2 separate regions of the Homo sapiens genome follow, and region 2 is linked to region 1. The links are contacts of gene promoters, found by promoter capture Hi-C in blood cells and fetal thymus (Javierre and others, 2016). All regions are on one chromosome and are shown on one strand. The core of a region is centred on a gene start or on the middle of the fragment in contact, and the rest is flanking DNA. Distances in the headings are between cores, read along the strand shown.

Region 1 (4,331 bases), core at 783-3,282:
GTGAATAAAATCAATGCTGAAATGGGAGTCCTAGTTAATCTATGTGATAGAAGTTACTAGGACCAGTGTTTGGTGGCTTAGGTCCTTAAAGAAATTGGAAAGCTCTTTGCAATACAGTGTGTTAACAACAGCCTTTTCTTTTTATTCCCTTCCCTTTGCAACTGTTCCCAGCCCTTCTTTAAAAATCTAAGTCAGAAATATATTGAAGGGCTTTATTTCTATCCATTTTTTTCTATCTGCACATGGCTGTTGATATTCCTTCACTGTCTTGGAGCTATCAACTATCAGTCTTTTGTAAAGTAGCATACATAGTAAAGTATCAAGAAAACATTTTCTCAAGCCAGACTGCCTGTGCTCAAATTGCAGCTCTGCTACTTACTGGCTGAGTGACCTTGGACACGTTATTTAACCTCTCTGTGCCTAGTAACCACTACATAGGAGGGTATTTTATAAGGATTAAATCTCTGTAACACACGTAGAAAAGTACCTGCCATATGGTAGGCACAATATACATTTTTGTTAAATAAAATGAAGCTTAGTAGTTTACCTGCATTGTTCACATTATCTAACACATTACCTTCCACATCGTAGGTACACAATGAATATTATTAGTCATGACTTATACATGACTAAATGTATTCTTAAATTGGAGTGGTACAAAAAACATATGGGTCCATTCCACATTTCTACAAACTAGCTCTGCAGTCTTGCACATCAAATTTTAGTGTCTTTGGAGCTTCCTTCTCATCTTTAAAATAAAAATATTTGCCCAATGTATTTCAAAGGGTAATTTTAATGATCAAAATGATAATGTACTTCCAATGAGTTGAAAAAATTATTTCTCTATATGAAAGGTATTATAACATTTTTATTTCTCAAATTACTAAATCAGTTCTAGGGGAAATATGCTAGTAAAATAGTTAAGGCTTGACAGATATAACTGGTCCAGAGGTCGGTAGTCATCATGAGTACTAAGACCTAGATACTAGGGGTCTGTGTTTGTTCTTGAGAATACAGCAAAGTGTTTCAAGGAAGGAGGCTTCTCCTTTACTTACCAGGCCTGTTCAGCTGTATTTGGCTACTTCTTGTTATGGAAGGAAACCTGAGCAGACCTTGGGAATCCAGTGTTCCTTTATCACATTCCTCAGATCTGTTAGGCTGGACGCCAAGGACAGTAGTTTGAAGGTGTTTGTCTTGATGCTGATGGATGTTGCAGTCTGTAATCCACGAACTGAAACAGGGCTTCTCTTCATTGCAGCTGGCATATCTTGTTGTGTTTATGAGTCTGACAGGCAAACATATCTGAAGCATATCTCATATGCTGATCTGTGAGGGAGATAAGCCCCTTGTTTTGCTTGACTGGAAACAAAATAAGCAGGTGGCAGAAAACCCTGCATTGATTTCTGCTTGGGCTAAAACACCCAGAATAAGATCAAGTCCCCCTTGGGCACACTCCAGCCTCTGCTATTTGATCATTGATCATTTGACTTAAGTTTGCAAATTGTTGTAGGGAAGTGTAAGTTTCTTTCTGCTTTAACAAAGCTACTTTTACTTATTTTAATTTTATAAGCTATTAGCACTATTTTGTGATAGAAAAAACTAAAAATCAAATGGTGTCAGAGCTTAAAAATCTCTTACTTCATTTGCCGTGTAATCTTTATGCATTTGATTTTTGCTTCAGGATCCTTACCTATAAAGCATACCCATTTCATTTGACCACTAGATTTTTACAGAATAAAAATAGTTCCTTTCTGAAGAGGAACTATGAAAGTGTATACATGGGTTAGGAGATGGAGCTGAGGACTCCAAAGTAATCAGTCCCTGATAAGAACTTGAGTTTTGATGCACACATTATTGCATTTTAGAGATTTTGGTCTCCCAGTTAGATTGTAAACTTATTGAAGGCAGTAGGACATTGACAATGCATAAATATTAGTTAGGAAAATGAAAAATAAAGTGTTGCTTACCAATTCAGAGATTCAGAAGAATGTGGATAGGATTTTTTCCCTCTCACCTGAAATTTCGACTTTATAAACTCTTTTTATTACTGTCCTTCCTTTTCTGATCCCTTGATGATTATTAATTGGTTCCAGTGGTGTATATTTCAGATATTTAATTAAGTCTTCCTTTCTGTCCAACTCTCTGCCAAAACATATTTTTCATTTTTATACCTGCAATGCTCAAACATAAGTTGATGCCAAATGCATGCTGTTTGATTACATTCCATCCAGATTTACTTCCAAGCAGGACGAGGCCTGTAGCATTTATTTCAAGTAGCTTTACAAAGAGCCATTCTTGGCCCTCAATGTGTGTGGCAGGCGGGGAGGCAGGAGAGGAAAATGAGGTAGATGTCCTTCCCATACCTTAACTAGTTTTTGAGAGAAATGGAAAATGGCAGATCAGATGCCATTGGCCGTTTGCCCAATTAAGCCATAGCAGTGTTAGCTAAGATGTGATCAATATGGAAGACTTGGTCTGCAGAGCCTTTTTTAGCTGTGCTCCTGTACTAGTCAAGCACCTCCTGCAACTTTGTGGTAAATTCAAGCACCTCGTGCAACTTTGTGGTAAAAACCATCCTCATGAGTTAGAGCCTTGTCTTATAAGAAGGAAGAGGACAGCTTCTGGGTGAGACACGTGCTGGCCATCATGCTGTTGCCTAATCTGTCACCTCAACTATTGATTCCCAGCTCTTGATTCTCATTGTTCATTCATGGAGTTGTTTCTAAATAATGGTGACTAGAGAGGAGGAAATGGTGTTATATTAGTTCTCTATTGCTGCATAACAAATAACTCCAAAACGTAGCAGCTCAAAAATCAACAAGGCATTACCTCCTAATTTTTGCAGGTCAGGAATCCAGATGTGGCTTAGCTGGGTGCCTCTGGCTTAGAGTCCCTCCATAAGGCTGCAACCGAGGTGACAGCCAGGGCTTCAGTCACCTCAACTTGGGAGAGATCTGCTTCCAAGCCCTTACCTATGGCTGGTGGCAGGCCTTAGTCATTGTGGACTGTTGGCCACAGATAATACTTCATTGGCACAAGAGCCTTTCTACAGGACAGCTTACAACTTAATAGCTGTCTTTGATTGAGGGTTGGGGAGAAGGTGGAAGCCATTGTTGTTTTCAATCTAATCTTGAAAGTGACATCCTGTCACCTCTACTGTATTCTATTCATCACTTAGAAGTGAGTCAATAAGTATAGGACATTTAAGGGGAGGGAATAATCAAGGGTATGAATACCAGGAGGCTGAGACAGTTGGGAGCCACCTTATAGACTGCCTTACACAGGTGTAAAAAGCATGAAATAGACATTAGACAAATGCAGGGTCTGCTGAGATGGCGTGTAAAAAGTTCTATCACAGGGCTTGCCACAGAGTAGAGAAGCATTGCATTTATTTCTTGCCACCCCCAGCACATTGCCTGGTGCATTGTGGGCACTCAAGTACCTACATGCCCATGAAACTGTGTCTAGTTTACTAAAAACAAAGAGTCTCTCTGTTCCAAAAGAGATTAATGTTTGGTGTTATCCTTTCTGGACAATTTTCTTCCTATGCTTCATTTCTCCAGTTATCGTCAAGGGAATGGATTTAAGTCTGAAATAAAATCACTCAAAAATAAGGAATAGCTGAAGCAGACCTAGAATTACCTTGGTGGAATTACCTTCTTAAGAACAATTAGAAGTTTATTCTTTAGGTCAGGAATGCTGTTGCCAATCTTCCACAGCAGGTGATAAGAATTAAATTCCCTCATGACCGAGGAAACGTTCTTTCTGCTAATCTGGTTCCACCTGGAGGTTCAACAAATAGAAGATAGAGCACACGGTGTGTTTAGTCTTAACCACATAGCCCGAGGCACTGGGGAAGTGTCCACACGATGTTTGCCTTCTGTGAACCTGGAAAGCAATTTTTTTCTAGTTTTCCTTTTTTTCCTCTTCTTTTCCTATTCATCTGAATTCTTCTGTAGTTAAATTATTAATTTCTCTCCCTACAGAATATAATAAATTACTATCCTTGTTAATTCTTTTATCAAAGATATGTACTAGGCTTCTGCTTCCACATGGGCCATTTGAAAAACAGTGCTTCATATGATCCCTGAACTTTTTGGCAATTATAAAGAGAGATCACAAATGAGTAAGGTTGAAAATTAAACTATAACTGGAATGAAATGTCCTATAGGACTAAACCTATCAGTTGTATTGCAGATCAGCCCCTTATAATTGGTGATGTGGTATGAGACATTTTATATAACTATAATATATAGGCCATAAATTATTATTATATCAGTCTGTGGTATAATATTGCACCTTAGGGTAGAATTTGCTCCATTTACATTATA
Region 2 (4,837 bases), core at 1,672-4,171, 1.8 Mb after region 1:
CTGAATGGAGCAGAAAGTATATTGCAAGCATTTAATAATTAATAGCCTTTAGTATTATTTTCTTAATAAAGTAAAAAGCTTCAGAAGACATGACATAAATGTTAATTATATAGAAATCAGATTACAAGAATTTCATGACAACTTACATTTATACATCATCTTGTAAAACTGCACCCTTCAATGAATCCAAAAGCTAACAGCTGGCATGCTACTACTTCTGTGATGTAGAATACATTTCTAAACTTTCAACTTTTGTTTTATCATTATTCAATACTAGGCCAATGAAATATATTATCAAACTGGAATATTCTTTAATCCAGCCAACTATTTCCCAATACCAGAAAGATAATATAGCTTGTAGAGACTGTCTACAATATCTAAGTAGCTAGCTTGCTCTGTAAATGGAAATTCAAGTATCAAGTACAAGGTTGAAAGAGACATCCTCCAAGGTCTCTTCAGAATTCTCTTCTATAGAAGCTTTGGGGGAAAAAATATCTTTCACTGAAAAAAACATCAAAAGTGTTTTAGTGTCATCTGTAAGAGGCTGAATAAGAGGGCAAGGAGGGAAATCAAGAAAAAGACTAAAGAAGGTGACTGAAAAGCATGATGTATCTCAGACCTGCATGTTTCAAGCTGTGCCAAATAGTGTTCAAACGCCTTTGAAAACTAAATCCTATAATAGTCAATCATTCTTCACCATCCATTTTCTTTTTATCAGCATGTCGACATTAATGGTTCTCTCACAGTCTTATAGAGAACAATGTTTATTTCATCTTTGCAAAGAAAAAATTTGTTATTTGTTACCACAAGTAACAAATATAAAGAAGAAAATAATTAGTATGGTGTATGATGATAGGACAAAGAGCAATGGTATGGATAAAAATGATAGTAGGTCAAAATTTATATAAGTGTTTCAGCCATTGATTGGTAAAGTGCTTGACATGTTAACAACAAGCAGTGGGGCAGAATCACATTCATGAAGAATTTCCTAAAATAATGTGAAAATACAGTCTTAGCAAAAATGCCACCTCTCTCACCCAAACTTTCCCCAAGGGGCCATAAAGAGGTAATTATTTCCCCTCTGAGATATTCTGTAGACTACACAAATGTGGAATAATGCCCTTACTGCATTGCAAAGATAGTTAACATCTCTATTTCCTCAACTAAACTAGGGGTCCCTAAAAGGTGAGATAGTATTTTAGGTATCTTTAAATCCCTAGTCCCCAGCGCAGTACCTGAATTATATTAGGTACATGATAGTATTGGCCAAATGAATATTTTACTGAATGAATAGTTACTATACAGTAAGCAATATTTATTCATTCATTCCTTCAAGAAACACTTACTGGGCCCCTACTCTATGCCAAGCACTGGTCCTGGTACTGGGGATGCAGCAACAAGCAAAGCAGGTAAGTCCCTGCCTCCATAAAGCCTGCATTCTGCTCAAGGGGACAGATGGTTGACAAATAATGAAAGTGTTAAGAAAACATACAACAGTGCAAGGGGCTCAGGAGTGAAGGAGTGTTTTATCTATGATAGTCAATAAGGGCTTTCTGAAGTAGAGTTCTGAACATGAGCGCACAAACCGTACAACTGTTTCAGAGCTGAAAATTCCTAGCTGTGGGAACAGAAAGTGCAAATGCCCAGGAGCAGGAGGTACATGGTATATCCATGGAAAAGCAAGACGGCCAGGATGGTTGGCCTAGAGTTGGCAAGAAGAACAACAATAGAAAATTAGGGGTTGGGCATGGTGGCTCGTGCCTTTAATCCCAGCACTTTGGGAGGCCAAGGTGGGAGGATCACTTGAGGCCAGGAGTTTGAGACCAGCCTGGTCAACATGACGAAACTCCATCTCTACTTAAATTACAAAAAATTAGCTGGGTGTCTTGGCGCATGCTTGTAATTCCAACTATTCAGGAGGCTGAGGCAGAGAATCGCTTGAACCTGGGAGTCAGAGGCTGCAGTGAGCCAAGATCGTGCCACTGCACTCCAGCCTGGGAGACAGAGTAAGACTACATTTCAAAACAAAAAAAAAAAGAAAAAGAGAAGAAAGGAAAGAAAGAAAGAAAATTAGGGTGAGAGGAATTCAGAAACCAGATCAGAGGGGATCTATTGTCTATAAATAAACCATTGATTAGCCAGACATGGTGGGACATGCCTGTAATCCCAGATACTCGGGAGGCTGAGGCATAAGAATCACTTGAACCCAGGAGGTGGTGGCTGCAGTGAACCAACATCATGCCACTGCACTCTAGCCTGGGCAACAGAGTGAGACTGTCTCAAAAAAAAAACAAAAGAAACCATTGAAGGGTCTTGAAGAAAGATGTGACATTATCTGATTCTGTAAAAGACCACAAGGAGGTAAGAATGGAAGCAAGGAGGCTACAGCATTAGCCCCAGCAAAAGAGGAGATGTAGTGGTAGGAAATGAACAGTTTCCAATTTAAAAAAATATTTTTTAAATAGAGCTGACAAAATTTAATGATAGACTTGGTGTAAAGAACAGGAGAAAAGGAGAGGCAAAGACATAAAGGAAACATATAAAGGTTTTAAAATATAAAACAAATTATTTTATCAAGATGGTTATCTATCTGTTTAAGAAGAAACATTATAAGATGAACCACACAAAAAGAGTAAGATTTTGCACCTTCCAAACAAGTTCACAGGTCAGGAGGAGAAAGAACTGGAAACTGGGAGCTCCAGAGACCCAAGTTCGCCCACACTTTGTGGCTTTGAATCACAGCATCACTGTAACTTGATTGCCCATCCAAGACTAACACTGGCGAGGAAAGTTTCAGGATCTCATTCTCAGATAATAAACATAAAACTGTAACTTTTTTGTCACAACCATACAAAATCCATTAAACGATGAAATAATGAGGTTATAGTTCTAAATACTATCCTAATACTTGACCACAGTATGGACAAAGATATATAAGAAATAACAGCTTTTCATTTTTTGAGCAATGAATAATTAATACCACAACTTTAATATTTTTTAAAAAGGGATTTGGGGTACTTAATAGAAATACAAATTAACTAGAAACACAATGAGTCATGAGAGCTATAAAAAATGCTTTTCCAACAACTAAAGAAAAAATAGGCAAAGGATAATCTATCTGTTGGATAAACTATCCAACAGAACACCAATAGAAAATAAATATAACTGGGTAGATGGACAACAGTGTACAAAAGGAAATCACCACCAAAAACAAGAAAATAACAATTAGGAGAAAGAGGTTTAGGTCTACATAAGATGAATATTTATAGAAAGTATCTTTGGGAAAATTCTGCATGCACAGCTTCGAAATATTAAAAGTGGAAAAGGGAATGGGAATATATGATTCCCGCGAAAAAAATGCTCATATCAAATTATAATCTGTTTTACTAGATATAAATAGTTTCTTCCATAGAGGGAGGGAGGGAAGGAGGAAGGAAGAAGGGAAAAACCTGTAATCCTGAAGAGGAAGCATGAAACTATAATACAAAGGCAAAGAAATGACAGTTTTCATGATAAATACAGCAGGTGTCTTCATATAAAATACACAATGTGTCATACTTTTTAACAGCAGAGGGTAACACCGTTTCAAATTTAAATTTGTAATAACAGACAGTTAATTAGATTTTTTTCATTTGTGAGGCTAGTGCCAAGTACACTTTCAGAAAGCCCTAAGAGTTGAGAGTATACACACTATAAATAATTGTTTTTCAATAAATTTGGCCAACTTTAATAAACAGTGTCTACTACTTCACAATTAATGGTTCAATACTGACGACTAGTGGTCAAAACTTGTAGTAATTCCCTATCAAGTATTCTATGACCTTTATCAATTTATTTAAAACATTTAATGCAAATTATGTGAAAATCTAAATTAAAAGATATTGCCCTCACAAACATTCAGAAAAACACGAAGAAAAGGAATTGTATCTACAAAGTCTCTTTAAAAATTCTTTCTGTCCATTATTTGCAGTATCCCAAAAGAAAAGTCAATCAGCATTTGCTGTCAGCTCACAAAGGAAACAGTTCCATGAAATGTCACTTTATTCACGCTCACACAGCTATGTTAACATTCTTCATAAATCCATAATTAATATTTCAAAGAGGTCTACATTTAGAATGCATGTATCTGGGCATCTCCATTCTAAATTTCTTTTTCAAACTTTGTTAAACACAAAGATATCAAAAATCCAGCTGTCTTTATTAAGTTGTCAGTATAGTTTGAAAACCAGCAACCCACTATACGAAAATGTTATTTTTATAGAGTTGAATTATGTTTAATTTAACTATGATTGAATTCTTGAAGAATGTTTATGGAATTTTGAATATATCATTGTAACTACTATATAAACTTCAAATAAGTTAAAATTGTTTAACTTTTACTTTCTGTCTTCAGGAATGAGAGCAGTAGAGTAACACAAGGTATAAAAATCTTGGAGTGAAATTTACCAAGAATGTTATATGCAGCTGAACAATCACTTACATTTGGAAACGTCAATTTCTTTAGCACCTGTTCAGTGAGCTCTGTGTGATAAACCCTGTACTACCTGTCCCAGAAACAAGGGTAAACGAGATGCACAAAGCCCCTCCAATGGAGTCTACATTCTTTGGCAAAAGGCATATAATAGCATAAGCAAACAAACAATAATTATAGTTTGTGTTAAATGCTATTTTTAAAAATAGAGTAATATGATACATGACAGTGAGCAATGGAACTGAAGGGGCGATTTTAGAAGGCGAGGAGGAACGGGAAAGTTTTCCCTAAAGAGGTCACAATTGAGCCTGAGGAACGAGAAGGGAGAAAAATGTTCCAGTAAGACACTGAGAAGAATCCAATGTA

What was found. Contacts are between HindIII fragments. The CHiCAGO score rates a contact against its expected background, and 5 or more counts as called.
Region 2: a fragment that was not itself captured here is called in contact with the fragment with the promoter of NRXN3-AS1 in region 1 in 4 of 17 cell types (M0 macrophages, M1 macrophages, M2 macrophages and 1 more); the score reaches 10.9 in M0 macrophages.

Annotation. Positions count from the first base shown.
Region 1 is chr14:79,073,493-79,077,823 of GRCh38, forward strand. It overlaps NRXN3-AS1 (NRXN3 antisense RNA 1), which reads right to left and starts at 2,033. Exons shown (of 3, transcript XR_007064282.1): 1 at 1,968-2,033; 2 at 1,056-1,326. The region is part of intron 15 of NRXN3 (neurexin 3); the gene reads left to right. LOC105370588 (a long non-coding RNA gene) reads right to left here. Exons shown (of 4, transcript XR_007064284.1): 4 at 3,707-3,783. The HindIII fragment of the contact is 3,991 bases long and covers 533-4,331 here.
Region 2 is chr14:80,846,639-80,851,475 of GRCh38, forward strand. All of the region lies in intron 9 of CEP128 (centrosomal protein 128), which reads right to left. Among named protein-coding and RNA genes, the nearest start is that of CEP128, 93 kb to the right of the region's middle. The HindIII fragment of the contact is 4,892 bases long and covers 476-4,837 here.